Regions from separate parts of the Homo sapiens genome. Here region 2 is linked to region 1. Evidence: promoter capture Hi-C in 16 types of primary human blood cells and fetal thymus (Javierre and others, 2016). All regions are on one chromosome and are shown on one strand. Each heading gives the region's core, a stretch centred on a gene start or on the middle of the fragment in contact. The rest is flanking DNA. Distances are from core to core; before and after follow the strand shown.

Evidence for each region. The method cuts DNA at HindIII sites, captures the fragments that hold promoters and counts their contacts. A CHiCAGO score of 5 or more calls a contact.
Region 2: a contact is called between a fragment that was not itself captured here and the fragment with the promoter of IREB2 in region 1, in 1 of 17 cell types (fetal thymus). The highest score is 5.3, in fetal thymus.

Annotation. Positions count from the first base shown.
Region 1 is chr15:78,433,796-78,440,662 of GRCh38, reverse strand. It overlaps IREB2 (iron responsive element binding protein 2), which reads right to left and starts at 2,447. Exons shown (of 22, transcript NM_004136.4): 1 at 2,307-2,447; 2 at 782-868. The coding sequence starts at 2,325. RefSeq lists a silencer at 1,993-2,232 and enhancers at 2,703-2,762, 2,833-2,912. The HindIII fragment of the contact is 13,990 bases long and covers 1-4,366 here.
Region 2 is chr15:78,704,197-78,711,063 of GRCh38, reverse strand. It overlaps LOC105370913 (a long non-coding RNA gene), which reads left to right. Exons shown (of 3, transcript XR_932509.2): 2 at 2,959-3,076. Among named protein-coding and RNA genes, the nearest start is that of CHRNB4, 66 kb to the right of the region's middle. The HindIII fragment of the contact is 1,638 bases long and covers 3,603-5,240 here.

The sequences.
Region 1 (6,867 bases), core at 1,198-3,697:
AGGCATAGTGGCTCAGGCCTGCAATCCCAATACTTTGTGAGGCTGAGGCAGATGCATCACTTAAGGTCAGGAGTCTGAGACTAGTCTGGGCAACACAGCAAGACCCCAACTCTACAAAAAATATAAAAATATGTTTTTATATAAATGTGTTGGCATACACCTGTAGGCCTTGTTACTTGGGAGGCAGAGGCAGGACTGCTTTAGCCCAGGAGTTCAAGGCTGTATGAGCTATGATCACAACACTGTGCTCTAGCCTGGGCAACAGAGCAAGACTCTGTCTCAAAAAAAAAAAGAAAAGAAAAGAGAAAATAAAATATACATTTAATTGGTGTAGAATTATCATCAGTCAGTCAGGTTCTTCTAAAAATCACATTAGGCCAGGCGCAGTAGCTTACATGTGTAATCCCAAAACTTGGGGAGGCAGAGGTGGGAGGATTATTTGGGCCCAGGGGTTCAAAACTAGCCTGGGTAACATAGCAAGACCCCTGTCTTCACAAAAACAAGAAAAAAAAAAGTTTGAAAACTGCATTATTGGTTTCTTTGAGGGGAAAAACTAGTGCTTAATTAACTTAGATTTTTAAATGAGAAGTTAAGGTGTGGGCCTACATCTTCCCTGAACAGAAGTTGTCCCAGGAGGAGTTTTTAAAATGGTATAGGTATGTGTAGGTGTACCTGTTACAATACGGTGGAAATACATTTAAAATTTCTTCAGCTCAGCTTGACAAATGCATTTTCATTATTAGAGACTAAACAAACCCAAGAAAATGTAAAGCAACATTACCATACTTGGTGCCAAGTTTAGATACATCGAAGAACTTCTTATGTGAACTGTCATTTAATGTTTCAATAAGGTACTCAAAGGCGTATCCTGAAAAAAAAATTGTATTTTCATTAAATGCAGCAACAAAATATTTTATTCAGCTGAAAATACCTGGAAACTAGCTTTATCCAATAGAATTTTCTGCAATGGTAAAAATATTCTATGTTTGAGCTGTCCAGTAAAGTAGCCATTAGCAACGTGTGGCTATTGAGCACCTGAAATGTGGCTATCGTGCCTGAGGAACTGAATTTTTAATTTATTTAATTTTGATTAATTTAAAGTCACACAGGGCTAGTATCCACCACACTGGAAAGCATAGTTCTAAACCATAATTTGTCAAGTAAAAACTAGTAAGATAATTCACTCCTGAAATGTGATAAGAATACCTGGAAAGGGACAATAAGAATGATTTAAATAATCCACGGGGACGTTTTGGAAAGACATGTCTTGAAAACTGCAGAGACAGGAATTTGTGAATTCCACAATTAACATTAGAGGGACTGATTAAAAAAAAAAACTAAAAGACGGATTTTTACAGAGCATTCAATAAACCAAAACAAAAAAACTTCTCAGTTAAGTCCTTACCAGGGCTTAGTACTGAAAATAAAAGTAACAGAATCTCTAGGAAATTAGCATATTCTACCCGAAAGAGACAAGTCTTCTGGTTTTGCACGAACTGAAGCTGAACTACTAAGTCAAAGATCCAGAGGTCTCATTTAAACGTGCCTCAGCTCCCAACATTCTAGGGGGCAGTGGCGGGGAGGCAGCCCTGAGGTTGAAAAGAACCTTCAGATCTTTTGTGCAGACTCATAGCGGTGGGTGGCCAGGACCCTCAACATTGTTAAGGCTTTCATCCAAAAGGAGAAAACATAAGCACAGCCCATTTTCAGAATGAATAGTATTTTTTTCTCTTTTTTTTTTTTTGTAGAGGGAGGTGGACGGGGGAGGAGACAGCGGTGCAATAAATGGTCGGAGAACTGACTGACCAATGTTCAACCTTGACTGCCCCTCATTCGGCTTCCAGAGGCACAGAGAGACTGAGGGGCCTTAGGCTGGACCGTGGAATCAACATCTAGCTGCGTGAGACCCGAACACGGAGACGCAGGCCCCCGCCTTCATCGCTCGCCAATGGGGGGCGGGCAGGAGAAGACGGTGGGCCTCTCCCTGCCCCTGGTGTTGCTGACGGGGGCCAGGAAGCCGCTGGCAGCAGGCAGCGGCCACCGGAGAGAGAGGGGTGCGGGTCAAGGCCAGCGGTGGGGTGGCCCGCCCTGCGGGTGTCGCGCAGGAGGGTGGGGATCGGGAGCCCCAGCTTCCGCGGCCTAGGCTCAAAGGGCGGCCCAGCAGGCAGGCCCCGAGGGGAGCACAACCCGAGCCCCGAGGGCCTGGGCGCCTGCCGAGCGACTCCAGGCGAGAAAAGCAAGGAATTCGGCGCCTAGGCAGCGCGCGTTTCCAACTGCCAGACCCAGCTCGGAGGCCCGAAACTGACCTGCTTTTGGGGCGTCCATCGCCGGAGACCATATTATCCCTCCGGGGAGGGGGCCAGCGGGGGAAGAAGGGGGAGGCCGGGCAGGGAAGACGGGGAGGAAGACAGGCGGACTGGCAAGGGAGGAAAGAAGGAAGCAGGCTCGCGCAAATATCGCGAGAGCAGCAGAGCCAGCCCCGGGTCTGCGCTCGCGGGATTTGTCGCCTAACTCCCGCGAGATCGTCGGACAGGAAAACAAAGAAAGGGAAGGGGCGGAGCTAACCAGAAAGCGATTTCTCGCGCCGTCGCCGCTGTTCTCGCGAGCGGGGGCGGAGCGCTGGGGAGGCTCCAGTGGGGGCGTTGGCGTGGCTAGTTTGGCCTTCGCAGCGATCCGTTACTTAGTTGCGGCCTTAAGTTTTCTATTGGGGTCATGAATTCGAGCGGTGTTTGCGTTCCCGCAAGGTGTCTGTTGGAGTCAGGGTCGGAATCGGAACTGCTAGGAGAAAGAGCTCAAGGAGAACCGCTTTCCCCTAACTATAAAGCCTTGCATTAACTTGTCAGACGTGGGCGGCCCACACGCGTGTTTTCAAGTGGGGGCGGCCATACTGATCGGGCGCGTGGGAGGCGCTCAACTGTTGAATGAATGAATTTTTTCTTACCCTCCGGTAGCTTCCGTGATTGCCGACTTCTTCCCAGTGGCAGTTAACACATGCTTAAGCCTCTCCATCCTTCCGCCTCAGCTCCTCCGGTCCCTGTGTTCTCCACCTACCCAGCATTATCTCCTGTCGCAGCAACTTACCAGAAAGAGTCGCTCATACTCGGCTCTCCCCCACCCACTTCTTATCCTCTTCCAGTCTGGCTTCCACTCCCAGAAATGCCTTTAGCCAAGGCCAGCTATAACTCCACTTTCTAATCTCACATATCTCAATCTTGACTGGTTCTCTCCCATTGTTGAAAAATACTCTTCCATCAGCTTCTGTGACTTCAGACTCTACTTTTGTTTCTTCTCCTAAGGGTGCTTGATCTCAGGCTCCTCTGCAGACCTCTTCCTCCGCCCAGCTTTTAAATGTACTGGGCACTTGATGGGCACAGTAGCTCATGCCTGTAATTCCAGCACTTTAGGAGGCCAAAGTGGGAGGATGGCTTGAGCTGAAAAGTTCAAGACCAAACACAGCAACGTAGTGAGACCCTATCTCTACAAAAAAAATTTAAAAATTAGCTGAGTGTGGTGGCATGCACCTGTAGTCTCAGCTACTCAGGAGGCTGAGGTGGGAGGATCACTTGGGCCCAGGAGATTGAGGCTGTGGTGAGCCATGATTGCACCACTGCACTCCAGCCTGAGCAACACAGCAAGACCCTGTCTCAAAAAAAAATATATTGGACATTAAATGTGTCCCAGGGCTCTGGCCTTGTACCTCCTCCCTCTGTCCATTTTCCCTGGCCCATCTCACACTTCCTTTGACTTCAGTTATTAGTTAATATGTTGATGCTTCCCAGTCTGCCTGTGACCTGAGCCTATCTCCTAAACCCGGAGGTGTATATCCTAGTACCCATGGGATGCCTCCACATCCCAAGGCACCTCAAACTAAAAATCTCCAAAACTGAACTCGTCATTTCCCTCCTTAAACCTACTATTCCTTTTGTATTGCCTGTATTAGCGAATGGCGCCACCATCCACCTGGTTGCCCAAGCCAGAAATCAACACATTATACCTGACTCCTTCATCCACTCCCTTTAATCATTGATCCAAGCCCTGTCAACCCAAACTCCAATATATTTCCTTTATTCACCTTGCTATATTTTGTAACATCTCCTTTACAATCCCAGCATGAAATTCATAGGTAATATAATCTACATACACGATAAATAATCTACTTAATGACCTAACTGTAATATAAAGGAGAAAAATAGGAAAGTAATTTATTAGAAAATAATATGTATTATAATACGTAGCTGCACAGGCATGTCTATATTAGATGACAAAATTGAGTAGTCAGATGCTTGTATCTATTTATAACGAATGAGTTTGGTTTTACAGGACATATAATATTCGACTGGGCCAGGCACAGTTGGTAGCTCAAGCTTGTAATCCCAGCACTTTGGGAAGCCAAAGCTGCAGGATCGCTTGATGCTAGGAGTTTGAGACTAGCCTGGGCAACATGGTGAGACCCTGTCTCTACAAAAACTTAAAGAGTTAGCCAGACATAGTGGTGCATGCCTGTAGTACCAGCTACCGTGAGACAGAGGCAGGAGGATCACTTGAGCCCAGAAATTCAAGATTACAGTGAGCTATGATTGTGCCACTGCACTCCAACCTGGGAGACAGAATGAAACCCTGTCTCAAAAAAAGATAAGGCCGGGGCGGTGGCTCACGCCTGTAATCCCAGCACTTCGGGAGGCTGAGGCGGGCGGATCACGAGGTCAGGAGATGGGAGATCATCCTGGCTAACACGGTGAAACCCCGTCTCTACTAAAAGTACAAAAAATTACCCGGGCGTGGTGGCAGGCGCCTGTAGCCCCAGCTACTCGGGAGGCTGAGGCAGGAGAATGGCGTGAACCCAGGAGGCGGAGCTTGCAGTGAGCCGAGATTTCACCACTGAACTCCAGCCTGGGCAACAATGCAAGACTTCGTCTCAAAAAAAAAAAGATAATATTCAGCTGAATATGGTCAACACTTTTTATGTCTGACATTGCAAAATAAGGATTCAATATATACATACATATCATGCATAAATATATATTATGAATGCATATATGGTAAATGCACATATGTATAAAATGTACATATATATCATGAATGGCCTCTAAAGACTAATGAAAATATGTTAGTGACTTAAATATTGGAAGTGTTGTCACTATTGTGATTTTCTGAAATGGTGAATAACTCTTGATAAAGTTCAAAACAAAAAAAAAAAACCTTTGCTTTTTTTATGCAATAGTTGTATTCCTAGAAAATTCCGTATATATTAAAACCATACACAAATTACTTTTGTTTTTACTTGTATATGGGGTTAAACTCTAGGCTCAGATAATTATAAACAAATTTGTTGTTACTGTTTTTATGTTTGTGTGTATGTTTAATGTACTTGAATATCTGACAGTATGGGTCTTGTTTGATTCTTTTTTTTTTTGAGACGGAGTCTTGCTCTGTAGCCCAGGCTGGAGTGCAGTGACATGATCTTGGCTCACTGCAACCTCCGCCCCTCGGGTCCCGGTTCAAGCAATTCTCCTGCCTCAGCCTCCTGAGTAGCTGGGAATACAGGCACGTGCCATCATGCCCAGCTAAGTTTTATATTTTTAGTAGAGACAGGGTTTTACCATGTTGGCCAGGCTGGTCTTGAACTCCTGACCTCGTGATCCGCCCATCTCAGCTTCCCAAAGTGCTGGGATTACAGGCGTGAGCCACCGGGCCTGGCCCTTGTTTGATTCTTTGTTGTGTAATTCTATAGTGTGGAATGCAGGCAATCTAACATTCATTGAATCCCAAAAGTGCCCCATGATGGTGACAAACAAAAACACCCATTTTCTCAGTGTCCCGCTTCCACTGAGAAGCACTAACTTAGAACAATCATGATATGCTCCCGTGTGGCTGGACTCATTACTTTTTTTTTTTTTTTAACAGTTTTATTTACTTTTTGAAAATTTTATTTATTTTAAGACAGAGGTCTGTTTATTTGGCCTGGACCGATCTCAAACTCCTGAGTTCAAGGGATTCTCCCACCTCAGCCTCCCAAGTAGCTGGGACTACAGGCATATGCCATCTCAGTCAGCTTTAACAGTTTTATTGAGATTTAGTTTAAATATCATAAAATTTACCTATTGTTAAACATTCTTATTTTGTGACAATTGTAGATTTACATGTAGTTGTACTAAGTAATAAAGATCCCGTATACTCTTCACCTAGTCTTTCTCCATGTAGCATAGTACAATATAAAAACGAGCAAATTGACATTCATACAATCATTCCACCTTACTCAGATTTAGGCAGTTCTACATGTACTCCTTTGTAGGGTGTGTGTGTGTGTGTGTGTGTGTGCGCGCACATGCACGTGTGTATTTAGTTCACGTGTGTGGCTTTGTGTGGCCATCACTACAGTCAAGATATGGAACATTTCCAAGGATCCTTCCTGTTGCCGTTTTATAACCGCAGCTGTTTTCCTCCTAGGCTGCCATTTCCTCATCCCCTACACCCTATTTTGAATGCTATGCAAATGGAAGCTTATGGTATGTTTTCACTATACATTTTTTTTCAAGTTACATTTCCAGTGAGATTTTAGCACCCTTTTAGATCAGTGTCTCGGGCAATGTCCAGGCTGGTTCACCTCTCCTTTTTTTTTTTTGAGAGAGAGTCTCACTGTGTTGCCCAGGTTGGAGTGCAGTGGGGTGATCTCGACTCACTGCAACCTCCATCTCCTGGGCTCAAGTAATTCTCCCACCTCAGCCCCTGAGTTCCTGGGACCACAGGCGCACGCCACCATGCCCAGCTAATTTTGGTATTTTTTGTAGAGACAGGGTTTTCCTATGTTCCTTAGGCTGGTCTCGACTTCTGTACTCAAGCTGTCTGCCCACCTTGGCCTCCCAAAGT
Region 2 (6,867 bases), core at 3,172-5,671, 270 kb before region 1:
GCCTGAGCAACAGAGTGAGACTCCGTTTCAAAACAAAACAAAACAAAACAACAACAACAAAACAATTGCAAAACCTAAAGAAAATCATTAATCTAGTCCAGACCAGCCTTTTACAGATGAGGTCACTGAAGTGCAGAGTGGTGAACTGACTTGTCTGATGTTACACAGCAAGTCATGGCACAGCTTGACCTGAAACCCAAAGCCAAGTTGTTTTCTATTACCTCCAGGTCCTTCAGTCCAGCCCTCCTGGGGCTCTGCCTTGGGAACTGGTATTGGTGACAAACGGATTAGAGAGGAACATGCATGGAGCTCTCCATTTAGACTGACATATTCGCATTGTGCCTGGGCACCGGCAAGAAACAGTGCAAGCTCCAAGAGTGCTCGCCCCAACCCTTTTCCCCCTCCCCATCCTCTCTCATAACCAACTTCAGCTAAAAGGTCTGAGAAGAAAAGGGAATCTTAGATGACTCTCACTAGGGTGTAAATGACTCCCACCATGATTTTTGTTTTATTGAGACATAACCCCAAAAGCAGTTTGATGGATAGTGTGCCAGGCAGTAGGATGAAGACAGATGGGGAAACTGCCTGGGGTCATGGAGAAGGTGGAGGCACTGAGGCCCTGAGTGATTTTATAAGCACTTTAAGAAAGGTCCAGCACCATGATTTCTTACCTTCACTACCCAGGACCAATAAGGTCCCACGTCCTGACAGATTTTGTTTATCAGACAAATTGCACTCAGTCATGCTTCATTTTCCTCCAAGAGTTCCCAGGTTACATAGAATTGAGATAATCTCCCCACCTTGCCATCACCCCCACAAAGACACTCCATGTTTCTGTTTACAATACAGTCTTATATGGATTGATATTAGATTTTCAGGTGCTCTTTGCATTTTGCAACTATTGCTCAAGCTGGAGACCCAAAACGAGCACTAGCTTTACAGTCAAAGACCCCTGGGTTCCAGTTTCAGCTGAGAGACTGTAAGCACATCGCTAGCCCACTCTGATCCTGTCTCCTAGTTGTATAATCACCTCTTTCCCATCAATTGCGAGGCTGGAGAGAAAAGTGTCCACTCTGTGCCCAGTACACAGTAGGAGCTTAGTAAGCTTAAGCTCTCTTGCTTCCTCACTATCCTAAAGTGGTAGCGGAAAGACAGATGTGGGGAATGGCACCTGGGAGGCTCCAGCTGTATGCTTCACAATCCTACCAACGAAAAATCTGAATTAGGCTTCAGTTTCCCGTCTACAAAATGAGACAGGACAGGAGTGGGTAGGAAGAGGAGGAGCTTGGCCTTGTTGGTTTAAGCTGGGCTCGTCTGATTCTGTAACGCGGGCTTCATTGCAGGGTCCAGCCCACTCCCCAGCCAGGGCTTCGTGTGCTCTGAATGTCTTTTGGCCAAGTCCAAGGCTATCCAGGGTCGGGGTCGGGAGGCTGGGTGGAGGGTAGTAGGGTGGAGAGAAGCAGTTCCCGCATATAACCTGCAGGTGGCACCAGAGCAGCGCGGGAGCCGAGGGTTCCGCTCCAGCCTTCCTGGAGACCCGAGCAGGGCGGGGTAGGGCAAGGCAGAGGTTGTGCACACCGCTCATCTGGGCAGTGGCACAGGGCTGCGGATCAGTCCACACTGTTTGAAATAGACACATGGGTCGTCTGGCTCATTTCCTCTCTTTGGTAGGGTGATCATATGCTTTATCATCCAAATTCTTCGGAGAGTGAAAGGGACACTATTATAATTGCACCGGCACAACAGACATAACCTTAGCTGTACCTTGCAAACCAGAACATATTGCAACCCTACCCTCCGGTCACTTTTTCTTCCTTGTTTCCATTCTTTCTTTTAATTTATTTTCTTTTTAAACACACAGCATTCTCTTTCCCCCAAGCACCACTGTCTTTGAAAATGCCCTTGCAATTGGGATATTTTCAACAGGGCAACATCTGCTTTCGCATCTTGAGTCTGAACAGTGTCTCTGAACCCACCCCAAAGGCTGGTTTTAGCTTCCAGTCAGAAGACTCTGTTCTCTGGCTTACCATCCCCATGACTCAAGAATTAAAGATGTCAGACGTGGAACAGTGACCCTTATCTCAACTTTGGTGCCTCTTTGCTAAATTTATTCCTGTAATTTTGTTCTGAGTGCTCATGTCCTTTATCTCATTGAATTTACATATATTAGTTTATCAAATTACAAGCAGACAAGCCCCATTAAGCAGGATTCTTATATTTCCAAGATCACCCCATTACTCCATTCAACCCCAAATTAGCATGCCATTTATCTCCTTGTTTCTGAACCGTCTTCACTTAATAGTCTCGTAAACATCCATCCATTGCAAAAAGGACTCAAACTGTTCTCACTTCCATTTTTAGTTGATTCATTGATATCCAAGTAATTGATTTGTCTGGAGGAGTCATTAGTAGAGAACTGTGCCCTTAAATTTAGTTTTATAGTGGAATTCTGCTAATTAATATCTCTCTGTGTCATTCTCACATTGCAGCAAATGACCATGGGTTTCTATCTTAACCTAAAATCTAGGTTAGAAATTTGATCTTATCTGAGTAAGATATTAATAGATAATGTGAGGCTTTTTTAAATTTACTGAACATTTTCTCAGCTAAGAATGACACTCATGGTCACAAATATCTATGTAAGCAAGCAGAAAATTGGGCTGTAAATATATAAACACTTAAAATATCATGTTTAGAGACAAGATTTTCCTTTTTTTTTCTTTTTAGTAAAGTATATTTGCTATGGTTGGAATGTTTGTGTCTCCTCCAAAATTCATGTTGGAACTTAAACCCCCATGTGATAGTATTAAGGGGTGGTGTCTTTAGGAGATGACTAAATCGTGAGGGAGGAGCCCCCTCATGAATGGGATTAGCGACCTTATGAAAGGGCTTGAGGGAGCGACCTAGCTCAGTTTTCTTCTTTTGCTTTTCTGTTCTTTCCACCATGCTGGGACACAGCGTTTCTCACCTCTGGAGGACTCAGCATTCAAGGTGCCATCTTGGAAGCAGAGAGCAGCCCTCACTAGACTACAAACCTGCTGGCGCTTTGATCTTGGACTTCCCACCCACCAGAACTGTGAGAAATACATTTTTGTTCTTTACACATTACCCAGTCTCAGATATTTTGTTACAGCAGCACACATGGACTAAGACAGTATCTTACATACAGCGAGGTGCATATACCTTAAGCTACAACTCCTTACTATTTACATATGTGCACACTCATGTGACCGCCACTCAGCTCAAGATACAGAATGTTCCCATCAGCACAGAGGGCTCCCTCTTGCGCCTTCTTAGTTGCTGTCCCTGCAAAGTTAACCAGGATCCTGACCTCTGTCACCATGGATTAGTTTCACCTGTTCTTGAACTTCATATAAATGGGATCATTCAGTATGTGCAGGTTTGTGGCTGGCTTCTTTCACTCAACATAATCCTGTGAGATTTAGCCATGTTTTGGGTACTGGTAGTTGTTTATTTTTCTGGTTGTGTAGTTTTCCATATTTCATTTATTACCCTTCTGTTTTTATGTCTAACTCAGTGTTTTGTGGGGTATATTGGTCCTTTTTAGCTAGATTGATATTAAACATCTTATCAATGAAGCTTAGGAGATTTTTAGAAGACAAAAGCCTAATAAACTCAAGCCCCCCAAACTTAAGCCAAGTTTCCTTCTCACCCCTGCTTGAGTTGTTCTTCTTCATGTGGTATTCTTTTCCTCACAAAGCTGAGGGAAAATCAAGGAACACAAGAGCTCTTCATCATGTTATCAGCTTAGGGATGCTTGTCATCTGAATAACAGGGTAGATATTTATAATCCAAAATGTTAAAATAACTAGAGCAAACACTTACATAGCACTGACTGCTGTTCACAGTGCTTTACATATATTATTTTCCTCAAAACAACTCTGTGAAATAGACACTATTATTGTCATCCCCACATTTTAGATGGGGAAATGGAGGCACAGAGAGACCATGTAACTCTCCCAAGGTGGTAGGGCCAGGACTTGAACCTGGGTTTTCTGGTTTTAGAGCCTGCACCCTTCACCACCACACCATATTGTGTAGCATGATACTTCCTGTGGTTAAAGTGTTTTCTTATATTAGCTTGGGAGCTTTTCTGAATAATTCAAATCTTATAAATTTGCTTCAAAGAATACAAGAAATTGAAATGGAAGATCTAATATAGAATGTGTGGGATTCATGAATAAATTATAGGACTCTCTGGTTTTAATAATAATTATTTGCTTATCTTGTGACTTTTGTCAGGCAGGGTTATAATGTGCTATCCTCATTTTCCTCCTCTTCAACGGGAGGAGATGGGCTCAGAGACAGGCACAATTTATCATAAAGTCTCATCACACTTTCCCTCACCATCTGGAAGCTGGAGATAGGTTTGTGAAATCTTGGTTGAGAAAGAGTTGAATGCCACTTGTAGCATAGTGAGTTTTATAAAGATGGTTTTACTAGCCAGTTCTGTTGCAGAGAGTCCTGCAAGTTTTTGCAATTAATGTGACCAACAGTTTTCTCACAAAGATTATCAGGGCTCTAGAGGAAATTATCTTCCAGTTTTATTCTGCTGCTAAAGTGCTCTATTTCTTTATAGATGAACTAATTAATTCTTGGTCACTTGTTCTCCCTTAGACATTTCTCTGCCTCTTTATGCTGTGCTTTATGTCTCTTTATGCTCAGCCCCAGGTTTTTCCTTCTAACTGCAAGAAGAAGATTATTGAAATTTTCTCTCTCTCAAACTCCCAGGCTCAAGTGATCCTCCCCTGTCTACCTCTTGTGTAGCTGGCATTACAGGTGTGCACCACTGCACCCTGCTGATTTTCTCTTTAACCTTCCCCCTGAGCATGTGTACACACACACACACACACACAAACATACATATAGACACACAGACCTCCACATGTATACACACACACAGAGACACACATATATCCACACATACTCATTAGAAATACATTTACACACACACACACGTGCACACACACGTATACCCACCTTCCTTCCATCTTCTTCTCAGGACTCAGGGCTCTCAGAGTAGTGGAAAGAGTCTTGTACCATGAGTCAAGGATCAACTGTGCAACTTTGCTCAAGTGTCCTTCCTTTTGAGATCTCATCTATAATAAACATTCTTATGTTTATTATAGATAACCAAAATAACCCATCAATTAGGGTTATTTTGAAGATAAAACAGATAGGAAGGATAACAGAATGATGACATGTTAAAAAATTAAGCTTGACCAAAAAAAGGTCTGGCTTTTGTCCTAGACTCCTGGGAGGTAATCTTCAACACGTAATGCCTGATAGGAATATCTTTGCCTGGGGATCTTGGGTCATGATGGATAGTCTAATAATAAGATGGTGGGGGCCGGGCGCGGTGGCTCACACCTGTAATCCCAGCACTTTGGGAGGCTGAGGCGGGCGGATCACAAGGTCAGGAGATCGAGACCATCCTGGCTAACATGGTGAAACCTCGTCTCTACTAAAAATACAAAAAATTAGCTGGGCGTCATGGTGGGCACCCGTGGTCCCAGCTACTTGGGAGGCTGAGGCAGGAGAATGGCGTGAACCCAGGAGGCAGAGCTTGCAGTGAGCCGAGATCGCACCACTGCACTCCAGCCTGGGTGACAGAGTGAGACTCCGTCTCAAAAAAAAAAAAAAAGAAAAAAAAAAAAAGATAGTGGGAACTAGCCAAGCCAGGAAAAGTGACTATGTGATTTAGAGTCCAGGCTTTAGGTCACCCCTAAAAGGACTGGAGACTGGAAACTGAGAGCAGCCACATGGACAATCAATCATGCCTCTTTGATGAAGTTCCAATAAAAACCCTGAACACTGAGGCTTGAGGGAGCCTCACTGGCTGAGAATACTCCATGTGTATTGGCACATAGCAAAGCCGGGAGGGTAATGCACTCTGACTGCATGGGGAAGGGATAATGGACACTCCATGCCTGGTGCTCTCCTGGACCCAGCACTATGCCTTTCTTCCCCTGGCTGATTTTAATCTGTCTCCTTTCCATGTAATCAAGCCATAACTATGAGTATAACAGCTTTCTGTGAGTTCTAGCCAATTCTTAGAGGTAAGCAAGCAGAGCTCATCTACTGCCTGCTTGAAAAAAACTATTTAAAAATCCCTAAACTGAAGAAGGCCAGAGCTCTCATGAATCTGACTCAACAGTTTTTGAAGCCAAAGCTGAGGGCATTTGAAGCCAAAGCCAGGCCAGACAGAGATGAGGCTCCTGGGGGGGAACAGGTGCAGTCCTGCTCAGGCTGCGGTGTCCCTGGGCTACAGCTCGATGAGGACTCCTTCTGGGTCACAGCTTCTAGGGGAAGAGTTTGGGGCAGGTTGACTGTCTGATTTGTAGGACTCTGGTGATGAGCTCAGCTGGGAAACTGTGTGGTAATGGGAAGAGAATGGTTTTGCTTTTCCAAATCATCTACCCCCTGTATGCTTGGATCCACATGGGAACTCAGTGTGGAAACTGCCTTTGAAGAGCCTAACCCTGAACTCTGGGCCATGTGTCCAGTTTCCTGGCCTCCAGCTTTGTTCACTCCTTACCCCTACCCATCACTGATGCCAGATCCATCCTCCCAAATATCCTTTCATCCTGTTACCCTCCCCACCACCTCATGGCACCTTCTACATGACAGGAAATGCCTCCCACCTCAGCCTGGCATTCAAGGTTCTTTTGATGTGGCCACCTCTCACCACCCCACCACATCTCCCTGTGGGCCCTGCCAACTTGGATCAATTTTTCCTATCCATGAGCTGAACTTTCCCACCTCCATACTGTTGCTTACACTGTGACCTTCCTCTGAATATTCTCTTCCTCCCTCTTCCCAAGTCCAAATGCTATAGACTGAATT